2 separate regions of the Homo sapiens genome follow, and region 1 is linked to region 2. Evidence: promoter capture Hi-C in human tissues and cell types (Jung and others, 2019). All regions are on one chromosome and are shown on one strand. The core of a region is centred on a gene start or on the middle of the fragment in contact, and the rest is flanking DNA. Distances in the headings are between cores, read along the strand shown. Region 1 has its middle 140 kb from the start of CA3-AS1. Region 2 holds the start of CA2 (carbonic anhydrase 2).

Evidence for each region. Contacts are between HindIII fragments. The study calls those that stand out against the background at their distance.
Region 1: a contact is called between a fragment that was not itself captured here and the fragment with the promoter of CA2 in region 2, in 1 of the 25 tissues and cell types used here (hippocampus).

Annotation. Positions count from the first base shown.
Region 1 is chr8:85,606,011-85,613,720 of GRCh38, forward strand. No RefSeq gene overlaps it. Among named protein-coding and RNA genes, the nearest start is that of CA3-AS1, 140 kb to the left of the region's middle. The HindIII fragment of the contact is 5,534 bases long and covers 1-4,316 here.
Region 2 is chr8:85,458,071-85,465,266 of GRCh38, forward strand. It overlaps CA2 (carbonic anhydrase 2), which reads left to right and starts at 5,937. Exons shown (of 7, transcript NM_000067.3): 1 at 5,937-6,045. The coding sequence starts at 6,012. It overlaps CA3-AS1 (CA3 antisense RNA 1), which reads right to left and starts at 6,845. Exons shown (of 3, transcript NR_121630.1): 1 at 6,512-6,845; 2 at 4,666-4,731. RefSeq lists enhancers at 3,450-4,145, 6,046-6,545 and silencers at 5,173-5,432, 5,503-5,822, 5,933-6,402. The HindIII fragment of the contact is 9,073 bases long and covers 3,728-7,196 here.

The sequences.
Region 1 (7,710 bases), core at 300-2,799, 140 kb after region 2:
ACTGACAAGGTAATGTTTAATCCTAACTTCAGGTAAAGTAGGCTTAAAATCTTATTAGAAGTATTTCATGATGTGTTTCCATGTAAGCCACCATGAATGTCTCAAAAATGCCAAATGCTGCAAAAATTATAATTCAGGTGGCTGCTCTGTTCATGTTTTTATAGTCAAATTTTCTTGTGTAATTTGGTATTCAGTGCTGGCATGATTCTTGTCTGCCTCCCCTCATTACCAAGAATAACTCAACATTCTCTCATATTTGGCCTTCTACATTAAGACTTTCTTTTCTCAAATTTGATACAAAATACTGAAAATATTTTATCTTTACAAAAGCAAGATTTTTTAGTGGGTCTTCTTTTTCTTTCTGGAGTAAAGAACAGATATGTTTTGGCCGGGTGCAGTGGCTCATGCCTGTAATCCCAGCACTTTGGGAGGCTGAGGCCAGTGGATCACGAGGTCAGGGGTTCGAGACCAGCCTGACCAACATGGTGAAACCCCGGCTCTACTAAAAATACAAAAATTAGCTGGGCATGGTGGTGGGCGCCTGTAATCCCAGCTACTCAGGAGGCTGAGGCAGGAGAATTGCTTGAACCTGGGAAGCGGAGGTTGCAGTGAGCCGAGATCGCGCCACTGCACTCCAGCCTGGGCGACAGAGCGAGACTCTGTCTCAAAAAAAAAAGAAAAAAAAAAGAACATTATGTTTTAAACAAGCAAGCTTAGTTTTCTGCATTTATTTTCACAGAACTTATATGTTGCATAATAATTCTAGATTTCCTCCCGTCACTTATCCCAGTAGATACTTTTATCATGACTTATTCCTACTGGGTTCTATTTCTCAGTCTCCTTCAACAGTGCCTGTCTAAAGTGGGGCTGATAAACCACACTAAATTTAGGATCTGAAAAGTAGGAAATCATCTTAGGTCTTAAACACATTTGTTAAATATGCATCCGTACTCTTAATTTATATAGCACTTGGTTTTAAGTTGTCATAGAAAATGTATGTCCCCTAGCCAACATGGTAAAACCTCATCTCTACTAAAAATACAAAATTAGCCATGCATGGTGGCACATACCTGTAATCCCAGCTACTCGGAGGCTGAGGCAGGAGAATTGCTTGAACCTGGGAGGCAGAGGTTGCAGTGAGCCAAAATCGTGCCATTGCATTCAGGCCTGGGTGACACAGCGAGATTCTGTGTCAAAAAAAGAAAAGAAAAAAAGAAAAGGCATTCGTGTAATTTTATTGGTTTTTATTGCTAAAATTGTACCTTGCAATAAAAAACAAGACCAAATCTATATATTGTACAAAAAATTGGACATTGACTCTGTTCAATTTGTAATTTGAAATTACCTGTGTGTCTCACATTTGTGTCTTGCATTGCATTTCTACTAGACAGCACAGCTTTGGAAAGTGGTGTAAATTTCTTACTCAATATGTCTCATGTTACCTTTTATTTATTTTGCCCTTACTCATATTTCTTTTTCTTTCCTTTTCTTCCTTTCTTTCTTTTTTTTTTTTTTTTTTTTTTTTTTTGAGACAGACTCTTGCTCTGTCATCCAGGCTGGAGTACAGATGGGATCTCAGCTCACTGCTACCTCCACCTCCTGGGTTCAAGTGATTGTCTCACTTCAGCCTCCCGAGTAGCTGGGACTACAAAGTCCATTGACTTTGTATTAAATTTCACTCCTTTGTTTAAAAGATATTTTCAAATTCTGCTCAATTCCATGAGAATTCTTGATCATTTTCTTTATACAAAAATCCTTCCATAGTCTCTGTGATGAGAAACCAGGATTACAAAGCCATGCTCCCTGCTCTCACATTAATTTTCACAAAACTTACATATTGCCTAACACTTCTAGATTTGTGTGAACCTCTCTTCCAAATATTGTCTAATAGATACATTCATCATTAGTAAGTAAGACAATGTAGTAGTGGAGAAAGCCTCATATTATCTTGAAATACAAAGAAAGAACACATAAACAGAATCTACTAGAAAAGCAAATGTGAAACAAAGTCCTGGTTGTTTATCTTTAAAATCATATTTCAGAAGTTTGGTCGATTTTAAAGATCCCCTTCTACATTTGAGTGAAAATCATAAAATTTTTGCCTTCAAAGGAAATCACCTGGCTGGGCACAATGGCTCATGCCTGTAATCCTACCACTTTCACAGGCTGAGGCAGGCGGATCACGAGGTCAGGAGATCGACACCATCCTGGCTAACACGGTGAAACCCCGTCTCTACTAAAAATACAAATAATTAGCTGGCCATGGTGGCACTTGCCTGTAGTCCCAGCTACTTGGAAGATTGAGGCAAGATAATTGCTTGAACCCAGGAGGCGGAGGTTGCAGTAAGCCAAGATTGCGCCACTGCACTCCAGCCTGGGTGACAGAGTGAGACTCTGTCTCAAAAAAAAAAAAAAAAAAGAAAGAAAGAAAAAAATCACCTGTGCTTCATATATCAGAATATGATTAAATATAGCTACAGTTATTGAGAGCCAACTATATAGCTAATGCTTTGTGAATGTTATTTTTAACCTGCATGAAATTCTACAAAGGAAATATTATTATTATTTTATGGATATGAAAACTGAGACTCGGAGGATAAGTAATTTGACAAGGTGAAGCAACACAGTCAAGCCAGTTATCCATTCTCACATCTGCTTAACACAAACCCAATGCCCTGTCCATTGTTGCAGCCCTGTACTTTCACCATGAAGTGATAGCACTGCAGTGTCCAGCGGGGTAGTGACTAGCCACACATGCCTATTGACTAGAAATGTGGCCAGGTCAAATCGAGACTAAAACACACGCTGGATTTGGAAGACTTAATACCAAAAAAAAGGAATGTAAAATATCACATAAATTATTTTTATGTTGACCATATGTTGAAATAGTTGAAAATATCTTGAATAAATATTTGAAATAATATTTTGAATATATTGGATTAAGTATGTTATTAAATGAATTTTCCTTATTTCTTTTTCCCTTTTTAAAATGTGGCTATTGGAAAATTTGAAATTACCTATGTGTCTCACATTTGTGGGTTACGTTGTATTTCTACCGGGCAGCACAGCTTTGGAAAATGGTGTAAATTTCTTACTCAGTATATCTCATGTTACCTTTTATTTATTTTGCTTTTACTCTTTTTTTTTTTTAAGACAGACTTTTGCTCTGTCACCCAGGCTGGAGTACAGGTGTGATCTCAGCTCACTGTAACCTCCGCTTCCTGGGTTCAAGTGATTCTCCTAACTCAGCCTCCCAAGTAGCTAGGACTACAGGACACACCACCAGACTCAGCTAATTTTTGTATTTTTAGTAGAGACGGGGTTTTTTGCCTTTTTGGCCAGGCTGGTCTGGAACTCCTGGCCTCAAGTGATCTGCCTGCCTCAGCCTTCCAAAGTGCTGGGATTACAGGCGTGAATCAATGTGCCCGGTCTCATTTTTTTTCTTAAAGACTGTAAAGCTACATGTGTGGTCATTACCTAGCTGCAGAAAACTTTTATTGGATTCACTAGCAATGTCTTTCTCCCTGAAGACTCGAATCAGAGGATTTGTAACTTGCTGAGTGCTTGAAAGGCTTTTGGCTACTACAGAATTTCATTGCTGCCTGAATAGAATTTAAGTGCTTTCAAACAAGGGCCAATTCTCGCTTTCTGTTTTATATTATTTCCACAGTTGTCAAATGTATTGGGAGATAGTTAATGAGCATTTTATTGCCTTTTAAAATCAGTTGGTACAGATGGGTTGAGTAGGACGGGAGCTGAAGGCTCAAAGCAAAACACTATCCCATCTCCTTTTCAATGCCAAAGAGACATTGCAAATTATTGTCATTAAATCCCAGATTCACCAAAATTGTTTTTATTCCAGAAAAATGTTTATTGATACCGCCCTCCTGCTTATCTCCAACACTCTCTCTATGCCCCTTGACTTCTGAGGGTGTCATTATCTACACTCTGAAGAGACACAGGTATCTGGCTAAACTCATTCAAAATCTCCCTGCCTTCCCCCTTAGTCCCAACCACTTAGGGAAACAATCTTATCAGAGTAACATTTTAAAAAGGGAAAAGAAAGGAGAAGCAAAATATATTCAGTCTAATTTAGCTTCTCTGATTTCTAGATTAGAATATACAGATGCCCCTAGACTTAAGATGGGATTATACCCCAAAAAACCCATCATAAATTGAAAATATTTTAAGTCAAAAATGCATTTAATACACCTAACCTACTGAACACCATAGCTTAGCCCAACCTACCTTAATTATGCTCAGAACATTTACATTAGCCTGCAGATGGGCAAAATCATCTAACACCAAACCTATTTAATAATAAAGTGCTGGCCAGGCACTGTGGCTCACACCTGTAATCTCAGCACTTTAAGAGACTGCGGGAGGAGGATCACTTGAAACCAGGAGTTCGAGGCCAGCCTAGGCAACATAGTGAGATCCCATCTCTACAAAAAGTAAAAAATTAGCCAAGTGTGCTGGTGTACACCTATACTGGAATCTGAGGATAATTTCTTAATCCCAAGCATTCCAGGCTACAGAGAGCTATGATGGCACCACTGCATTCTAGCCTGGGTGACAGAGTGAGACCCTGTCTCAAAAAAATTAAAAAAAAACAACAGTATTCAATATCTTATGGAATTTATTGAATACTATACTGAAAGTGAAAAACAGAATGGTTATATGGATACCTGAAGTATGATTTCTACTAAATGCATGTTGCTTTTGTACCACCATAAAGTTGAAAAAATCATGTGGAACCATTGTAAGTCCAGATTGTCTGTAATTAACACATATTTCTATCAATGAAGACGCTTTCAGTTGAAAATTATAGAATATAAATTGAGTACATAACAACATCACAATAAATCTTTTTACCTTTTAGGATAATACATAGAATCTTTCCTGAGAAAATCCATTCCAGGCTATTTAATTAGGGCCAATCCTGCATCCAATCCCAAGTTACAGGGTCTGGATTTAGCCAGACATGACCAGTCAAATTATCTCTTATTTCTGGTCACAGTAATTGGTTCTGCAATGACATCTGAAACAAGCTGAGCCAATTAGATCCTTCCTAGGATGTTTTATAAAAACTACTGGGAAAGACCATTTCTTTCTGTGAATAGGATATGCGTCTAGAGATGCTGGTGGCTATCTTTCCCACCACAGGAAGGGGCTTATCTGGAAATACAGAGTTAGCAACCTGAAAATATCATTTGATTCCGTGGATTTAACTGTGCCCAAAACCACATATGCCCTATTACATATGTCCATGTTCTCTTTTCTTTTTAAATAGGTATGAAGTGGATTCTGTTACTTTATCCCAAAAGAGTCTTGGTTGACACAAAATTGATATTCAGAGTGGAATGTCATAGGTGACAAACACCAAAACATGAAATAAACTCAACTGAGTTGCAATTGCAATGAAGCACAAAGAAGAACTTTTACCATCATTTTGGAAGATGGCAAGTCTTATTAGGGTGTGTTTATGTCAGCTGACTGTGAGCCAAAGTAGCAAATGTAGTAAATCATGTTTGCTTGTTTCTGCTTGCCAACGTAGTTTCATAAAGCCCCTGACTCTGACAACCTGCAGCTCTTCAGAGGGATGCTTTGAAGACAAAACAGGATAGAGCATATGGCCCCCACGTCTCTTGCCTGAGTCACTATACTCTTTAAAAGATAAATGACCCTAGTTCTTGCCTTTTCCTATACATAAGATAGCATCTGTCAGGCATAGTGACTATGCCTCCATAACCAGATGTACTCTTACACCCAAACTTTGCTATGATTTTGAACATACTGAACCCCTACTACCTGTGTATAAGCTGTGAGCTAAAGCACCATTTTGGAGGAGTCTGACAAAACCTCTCTGAAGAATTCCTCCTGGGCTCTAGTCTTCAGTCAACAGTCCTCAGCAAGACTTCTGCATGAAACTAATTTTTTGAGAGCTCGATTTTTTTTTAATTTAGTCAACAAACTAATTTAACAGTTACTTGTATCTTGTAACATAGGTCATATTATCACTGAGGTTAGAGCATTAGGAGACAGGAACAATATCAGGATGTTGGAGTGTGTTAATCATTTTTTACAGCTATTAGTAAAGTTCTAAAAAAGGTAAGTATCTAAAAACAGACACATCTGGAAATAGAACCAGCATGCAGCCATGCTAAGGAAGTCCTTGTTGCTTACAGGCCAGACTTCAAAATCTCGGAGAGCCAGATAATCATGGACCCTGGGGGATTTAAGAAGCTGAATTTTCTGGCCCACGTTGTTTAAAGTTAGTATTAGCAAAGACAGGGAAGCAGGAAGCACAGAGGAAAATAAGTTTTGGACACAGGAAGGACCAAAGAATTAGCTGAGTTCTGTTTACTGAGGGCCGCCAAACACTTTGCTGAATATTCTTGGCTCCCACAAAAGAATAATTATCTCCAATATAAGGCACTATCCCATGGAATGAAGCCTGGGTATAGGATGTAGCAGAGCCCAGCCTCATTAGTGTAACCCATGGGTTTGTATTAGCAGGCCAAGGTGAATGTTAGGCTAAAGGTAAGTATAGCGGCCAGTTGAGAATTGACAGATACAAGGTAGAGTCCAGATTCAAGTGTCACATCCTGGCCTTGGTTTCTAACCCACACAGTCTCAAGAATTCAATTTAGTCATCACTAAGATGAGACATTAAGGAAGTTGGGAGATCCAAGGAAACCCAAGGCTGGTAACCAGGCTGTTCAAACCTGAGGCCATCTCCAAGTTCCTGAACCTACAATGATAGGAATTGTTAAAACAGAATGTTCCCCAGAAGAGGAAGCTCTCAAATGCACCTCACATAAGAAACTGTGACAGGTAATAGGAAAAGGAAATCCTCTCAGGGAGTGAAACTGGAAGCAACCAGATTAGCTGGCCAAGAAACTCATTCCTTTGCCAGGGCAGGGAGTCTCTGCTTTCCCCATCCAATGGGATACGGTACATGCCACAGACGGAGACCTCTACATGTTGTTTAGCCTTCTCCCCTTTTCTAAATGGGAACTTTTGTTAAGAGTTTTGCTGGATGGGCTTATCAGTAAGCTAAAGTTGTTAAATATTCATTTGGACTAACCAAAATAAAATGTATATCATTCAGATATCTTGGAATTGGGTGCAGTAACTAGATGGACTTCGGGTTGTTTCAACTTGCAGAATGGATGAATGCCCTTTCAGTTTCATACTGGTCAAATGCAGGAATTTCTGAAATTGCATGCATTGAGAAAAAGATATATATATATATAAACGCCATACAGCTAAGAGTTAGAATGTAGTCGACATCTGTTATTTCTACCTGCCCAGTACCCATTCTCATTTCTGTTGATAATATAATATCTTCCTTGAGGAGCTGTAATAGAATTAGTGGGCTTTTACCACAGAATATTTGTCTAGATCATGACCTCTATAAAAACATTTGTTTAACACTACAGATAAATAAATTTAAGTGGTAAATATGAACTATTTCTGACACAACTGAAAAAGGCATAAGCTATGATGTGGCAGGAGTTTCTGAGTCTTCTTCAGGTATTCTGATTTTACTATACCTCTATAGATTAGTAAATGACTTATATTAACAATTTATGAAGCAGATCTTCCGTTTGAAACTAACACCTGAACAATTACACATCCTTTACAGGTATCTATTTCAGATGTTTCAGGTGGAGATGGCCCACAGTTTCCCAGCCTCAGAAATGA
Region 2 (7,196 bases), core at 4,687-7,186:
ATTTTGATAGACATTCTATTTTATAGAGGAGTACTGCTCACATAATCTTAATGCATTGCTATTACATCACCACGAGGCAGTTGCCTTCATAAGCTCCTTGAAGGTATTTCGCTGGCCCTCGGGGAGACCACATAGCAGATGGCTAACAGTTCAAACTGTTTGGTTTCATACCTGGCCCCATCACTTCCTAGCTGAGTTACCTGGGGTAATCTGACCTACCTCTATGCCTCAATGACACCAGCTGTAGAGTAGGACTATGTGAAGCATTCAGAACTGTGTTGGTGCGTAATCAGTTTTCAATAAGTGTTAGCTATTTTTATAGATCAGGAACTCAAATAATGTCAATTAAATACATGTGAATTTTCATCCAAGTTAGAGAACTAGGAAAGTCAACCTGTTATTTGACAATGGAAAATATTATATGTAATGACAATCATACCATTTATTCAACAAAGAAAATATGCCAGGATTGTATCTAGCATCTTCCAGACATTCATTCTCATCACGTTGTGGAGCTAGAATTCCCTTCGCCCCGTTCCGCCCAGTCCCCATTTACAAATAAAGCATGTGAAGTTCAGAGGGATTGCTTAGTTTGCTGAAGGTGATGCAGCAAGTAAGTGTTCGAGTCAGAGTATGAACTCAGGTCTGTCTTATTACAAAGTCGATTCCCATTTCACAATTCTATGGTTCTTGACTACAATAACAATAATCCTAATGGAGCAGCTAACAACATACCAGGAATCATGTTCATTCACAGGACCAATTCACACAAACTAGTCCATTTACCACGATCAGCAGCCCTGGGTACTCTTACTACATTTCACCTTTGGAAACTGAGCTTTGAGGAGGTGAAATAAGTATATAAGATCATGTAGTGAAGAAGCCCTCGAAGCTGAATCCAAACTATAAAACCTGGGCTCTTGGCCACTTGTGATGCTGCCTCACATCTTACCAAAGAAGGATATTGAGAGACTCAGAGTCCAAGAGGGAAGCCAGAGACAGGATTAAATGGTTTTATAGTCAGAAGAAGAAGTTTGGATCTTTCTGTAAAGGAAGTTGTCAGATGAATAAAAGCAAGGAGCTAGGCAACAGCGTGTTGTATCTGGGGACTTCTACAAGTCTCCTCATCTATAAAATAAATAGTTGGACCAGGTAACCTCCAAACTTCTTTTAATTCTACAATGATATATTGTTGTGGTTTGTATTATATCCTCCCAGCACATAATATACCTGTGCATAAGCCACTCCCTAGTGGCTTCCCTGCGCAACTAGTATAAAATCCTTTCTTGCTATCATTGTCTGCAAGGCTCTGCAGGCTGTAGCCCCTGACTGTCTCTGACTCCACTACTTGTCTTTTCTTCCTCAGTCACCATGCTTCAGTCACAAGCTTTTCTGTTCTAGAAACTTCCTTTCTCAGGGCCTTTATACTTGCTGTTTCCTCTGCCTGAAATGCCCTCCCCCAGATCTTTTTTTAGTGGTTCCTCAAATGTACTTCCTTCAATAGGTTTTCTATAACCACCGCATCTAAAGTAGGATTTCCTCACTCATTATTCTTTACCTCATTCCTGTTTTACTTTCCTCATACTAATTTTCAGTATTGGAAATTTACTTTTGTTGTTTATTTTGAGTCATTTATTGTACAGTACCCCCATCCATCCCCATGTAAACTCTGTGAGGGCAGGAGTCATGTTGATCTGGTTTATGGCTATAGCCTCTGTGCTGATGCCTGACACATAATAGCATTCAGAATGATTCATTGAGTGAATGGATGATGAGACAAGTTATCTTGTGTAGCTCACCTAGCACATAGAAAATATTAAGCACAAAATAGGAGCTGAGAAACATGTAACGGTAGTAATGATAACTGACATTGATCAAGCTCTAATTATTGGCACTAGGTTAAATCCTTCACACACTGTATCATCTTAGTCCTCACCACAACTCTGTGAGGTAAGTATTATTATTATCCTAGTTTTATAGATGAGGAAACTGAATCTTAGCACAATCAAGAAATTTGCCCAAAGTCACAAAGCTAGTAAATTAACCCAGATTCAAAACCAACCTAATTTCAGCACAATGTTATTTGCTAACTATAATCTGTAACAAAATTATTTACTAACTTCTGCAAAGTGAAACTGCCATTATCTCCATTTGGATTTTTCAAAGTTTATAATTTCAAGGAGTACTATGTGAGTAACTACTATATGTATCTTGGGACTCAGGCTAGGTAAAGGGTACTAGGTGCCTAAGATACAGAGATAAATAATGTGACACAGTACTCAACTTCAGGGGGCACAGTTTAGGAAGAAAAACATAAGCGTGGTAGAATGGACATCTCCATGACCCAAACACTCCTCTGTCCTCTCACAAAAAAAAACAAAACAAAACAAACAAAAAAACACCTCCTGCTGTGGAGACTCATTCCTCTTAAATGTTTCCCATGAACCTGGCCCAGGTGTTTAATTTTGCATTCCTTAAATTATATTCTAACTGTTTAGCACTGTCTAGGAGGGACTGAATAGCCATCATTTACTGAGTGCCTACACGTGACAGGTGATTTATCTATGCTCACTGACTGAATTCTTACAACAATGAGGTGAGTGTCATTATTCCTGCTTTACAAATGAGCAGTCAACAGCTTATTGGGGCATTGGATTATAACCCAATGATTACAATAGAGTGTCTGATTACAATGCAGAATTGCCAATATTAGGATAGAAGGATGTGTATGCAAAGACCTATGGGAGCCCCAAGAAACAAATGGCTCTTGGCCTTCATAGATATTTATTTATTTTTATTTTGTTTGAGACAGTGTCTTCCTGTTTCCCAGTCTGGAGTGCAGTCGCATGATCATGGCTCACTGCAGCCTCAACCTCCTGGGTTCCGATCTGCCGACCTTAGCCTCCTAAGCAGCTGGGACTACAGGGGCACACCACCATGCCTGGCTAACTTCTTATTTTTTGTAAAGATGGGGTTTTGCCATGTTGCCCAGGCTGGTCTTGAGCTCCTGACCTCAAGCGATCCGCCTGCCTTGGCCTCCCAAAGTGCTGGGATTACAGGCGGGAGCCACTGAGTCCAGCCCCAGATATCTACTTAAACACTATAATGGTAACAAATATGAGAATATCTGGCTTTTTATTAGCTTTTTAATTAAATATTTAATAAATAATGTGTATCTCACCTTGTAAAATATTTTAACAATATCTTTACATTTTTTGAGAAAAAGCAAATACTTTCACATTTTTACTAAGAATAATATGTTAGAAGCTTTTTTATTATAATAATTGGAACACAGACTTTAAGTTTTTTTACATTACATTTTCCTGATATACTGCCTGAATTTTTTTTTTTCTGGGGCAAAGAAAAGTACTTTTCTTAAGCTACTGTCAGTTCCTTTACTTAAGATTATTCTGAAATGAACCCATCCTTCCCTCTAATGGAAAGATAGGTACATAATAAGATAAGCACTTTTTTTATTTGAACAAATCCAGTATTAGAGTAGTCTTTTGCAGCTAGTGAATCATGACAGCCTGCTAAGAAGAATGCCTTCAGTAAAATAAAGTTAGGTTGGGACTGACCAACATGAATGCATAAAGTTAACTCCATTAAAAAAAATTGACCAGGAAAATAAAACAATGCTAAGCCAACCACTGTAATACCAAAAACGCTGCTAAAAAATTTAGATTGCTTCTGAGTAACCAAAGGTGAACCACTCTCCACCCTGTGGTGAACATGTGACACTCTCCCTAACAGCAGCTCTGTGGGGAGGGCTTGCTCCCACTGAGAATTAATTCACTTTCCAGAAGTGAGAGATAAGGAAAAATTCCCATGACAATAATCCATTTGGTGAACTGCAGTTTGGTGGTGTTTGAAGTTTTACGCATATTTAAGAATCAAACATGCTCTTACTTCATCCCTGTTAGGAAAGCCACAATCCAGTTTCACGGAAAATGAAAGACAAGGATTCCTGCTGATCAAATCGCCTGGCTCCCTCCACAGAATCCCGGGAAGCCACTCTACATTCACAAACTTTGCACTCAATTCTTGGCACCTATCAACGCCATATCTCCAGGGCCAAGTGAAGAGTCTCATAGCAACTAAGTTAATATTTGAAAATTATGTAAAGAAACAAAATTACATCAATGGGCCCCAACAGATACAATGCACCTACAGAGGCACAAATAAAAGCTTCTTCTTTGCTACAAACTCCATTTTGTAATGGTCCTAAAAATTTAAAAACTTTATTGCTGCTTTCTTGCCTAAGAATTCCCTGTGACATCAACCCAAAACCCACATAAGCAGAAGTACACAATTTTCTAGAATCTTAGAACAAGTAAGTCTAAACATGAATCATATTTGTTTGGATGAAATTGACTGAAATAAATAGTAAAGAGTGATTTTGAGATACATATTGCAAAAATGTCCACTAATAACTTATCCTTGTATTTATCTGTATATTTTCAAAGGTAAGTAATGTGATGTCAAGGCCGACACAATCACATTAAACTGTGTCCTGCTTCCCCAACTGTAACTCTAATACTATTGCCCTCAGAGATTGCAGAGACCACAGAACCGAACTCCTTCCCACAAACCCCCGGATTTTTCTGTGGCAAAATCCCTTGTAGGAAATGAATTCTCTCTATATCTCAAAACAGCCTCACTTACCCAGTAGGCCCTGTAAGCACAGTGTCTCAGGTCCACAATACTTTTAGATGCCCAGGAAAATGTTTCCTTTTAAAATAAGAACAAAAAAGAAAAAAATTAGGTGTTGGTTAAAGAAAATGTTTAAATATATAATATTAAGATATTTATCTTTATGTCAGTGTTGGTATAAATGCGTGTTTATGAAAAAGGGACCCACCAAGGTGAAATGCCGTAGGACCCACAAATGTCATAATGCTGGCTGGCCTCAAAATGTCCTTCCTATTAAACTATTTTGAATGATTCCTAGGTATGCCAGATGCCAATTTTTCTTGGCCAGCCAGGGAACGTCTCATGTCTTTGGAAGAAATTATCTTTCTCTTACTGGATTCTTCTGAGAAAAGTGATTTGTTAAAAGTTTTGGTTATTTCAAATCAATATGTACTCAACTAGGACGTCTCCTCACCCACGTTAATTTTTTAAAGAGGAGGAAAGTAGGAGAAGATGAGCGCTTCATGTAAGGCTCTGCCAGCCTACGAGGAAATGCAATCCTCCAGGCTCGCCCGAGCGTGGGCTGCGGGCAGGGGACTGTGGGGCCGTTGTCTCGTTTTATTCCACGGCCGTGCAGCAGAGGGCGCGTGCCTCTCAGCACTCATGCTGCGCGCTCCCCTGCGCCTCTAGGATCGTATCCCTATTTGCCCCAAGGTCATAGCTCCTAACCCAGCTTGCCAGCCCCAGGCCGGGGACACCAGAGACTGAGCCCTTCGCGCTGGAGACCCCGGCGCGGGTGGGGCGGGAGGGCTCCGGGGCCAAGAGACAGGTCACAATGGGGACAGGGGACGAAAGGCGCCGGGGGTCCGGGTCCCGAGCAGTCCCCGCCGCCGCCAGACTCCGCAGCCGGGAGGGGGATGGGGTGCGCGTAGAGGCTCCGCGGCCCGGGTTGGACGGAGGAGCCCAGGAGCCACCGCAGCCGCCGCACGCCCAGAGCTCCGAGCTTCGCTGCCAGCCCAGGACACCGGGGCCCTGCCGTGGGCCGAGGGGAGCCGGGCGGCGGGAGAGGAGCCCCGGAGCCCCGGAGCCCCGGAGCCCCGCCGGGCGCCAGCCGAGAGGGCGTTTTCCCCGCCCCCGGAGACTCGCCCGCCCGGCCCGCCCCGCCCCGAGCGCGGGGAGTTCACCTCCGCCCGTCACCACCTCCCCTTGTCGCCTAGGTCCACCCGAGCCCCCTCCCCCGGGCCGCCCCCGAGCACGAAGTTGGCGGGAGCCTATAAAAGCTGGTGCCGGCGCGACCCGCGGACACACAGTGCAGGCGCCCAAGCCGCCGCCGCCAGATCGGTGCCGATTCCTGCCCTGCCCCGACCGCCAGCGCGACCATGTCCCATCACTGGGGGTACGGCAAACACAACGGTGAGTGCCGGCGACGGCCAGCGCGGGGGCGCCCCGATCCCCGATCCCCGATCCCCGATCCCCGAGCCCGGATGCCGGCCCGGGGCCCGCAGCGCCCGCACATGCTGTTTACCGCGGCCGCGGGGAGTGCTGGAGGCTCAGGTGCGCCCCGGGCGCTCGCTCCGCTCGCGGCTCCGCGGCGCCGGGGATGTCCCCCTTGCCCCAGCTGCGAGGCCACTGTGGAGGAATCCCCGCGTCCGCCGGAGGCGCGTAGGGCCCGAGGGAGGGGAGGCGCAGCCCTGGCCGCGGGACCCGAGGACAGTCCCTCCCGGGTCCCGACCTGGGGATCATTTTAACCGGACCTAGGAGGAGGCGGGAAAGGGTTGTAACGGAAAATTCTAGTTGTTGATCGCAGAGAAATTAAGAGACTCCCCTCCCCCCTCCCCCACCTTCCACCCCCACCCCACCCCTCCAGCTTCAGCACCACCTGTGGCTAAGGCGCTCAGCACGAACTGTCCCGGGGCATTTTCCAGTGCTGGTTTGAATCCATGGCTCTGATTTCCGAGTTTTCCCTTCATCTCTCGACTTCTAATGTTAGGGGGTCGGACATCAGGAATCGGGTTTTATCTTGGCCTCAGATCTGGTTCTTCGGAGCCAGCGGAGCAGAGGAGCATGCGTCTGGCGCACCTAGCGCATCTTTGGAGGGTGTGGGGCTTCCCAGGTAGTGGGGAACCCTGACGGTTAAAGGTGGGGTGGGCCCGGGCCTGGGCAGTGAGGAAAGGATCCAGACCTCCTTGAATGTCTTAAGTGAGCTTGCATATCCCAAAATCGCAACCACAAGCCCTGACATTAGTGTCTGCCCGATTTCAGTTGCTGAATTTCAGTAAAACGACCTTAAAATAGCTAATATTTATATAGCACTCAGTGATCTAAGAGCTTTACATATATCGATTCTAATTCTTACAGCGACATCTATGAGGTAGATTTCTAATTATCCCATATTACAAATGTGGAAACTGAGGCACAGATTACGTGTTTTCCCAAAATTTAGCCCATTGTTAAGTGATGCTTCTAAAATTGGAACTGAGCAGATTGGCTCCGGAATGATTGCTCTTCTCTAGGGGTCTGGGTGTACCTTTCCCCACAATGGGGGATTCACATGTCTTCTTTCC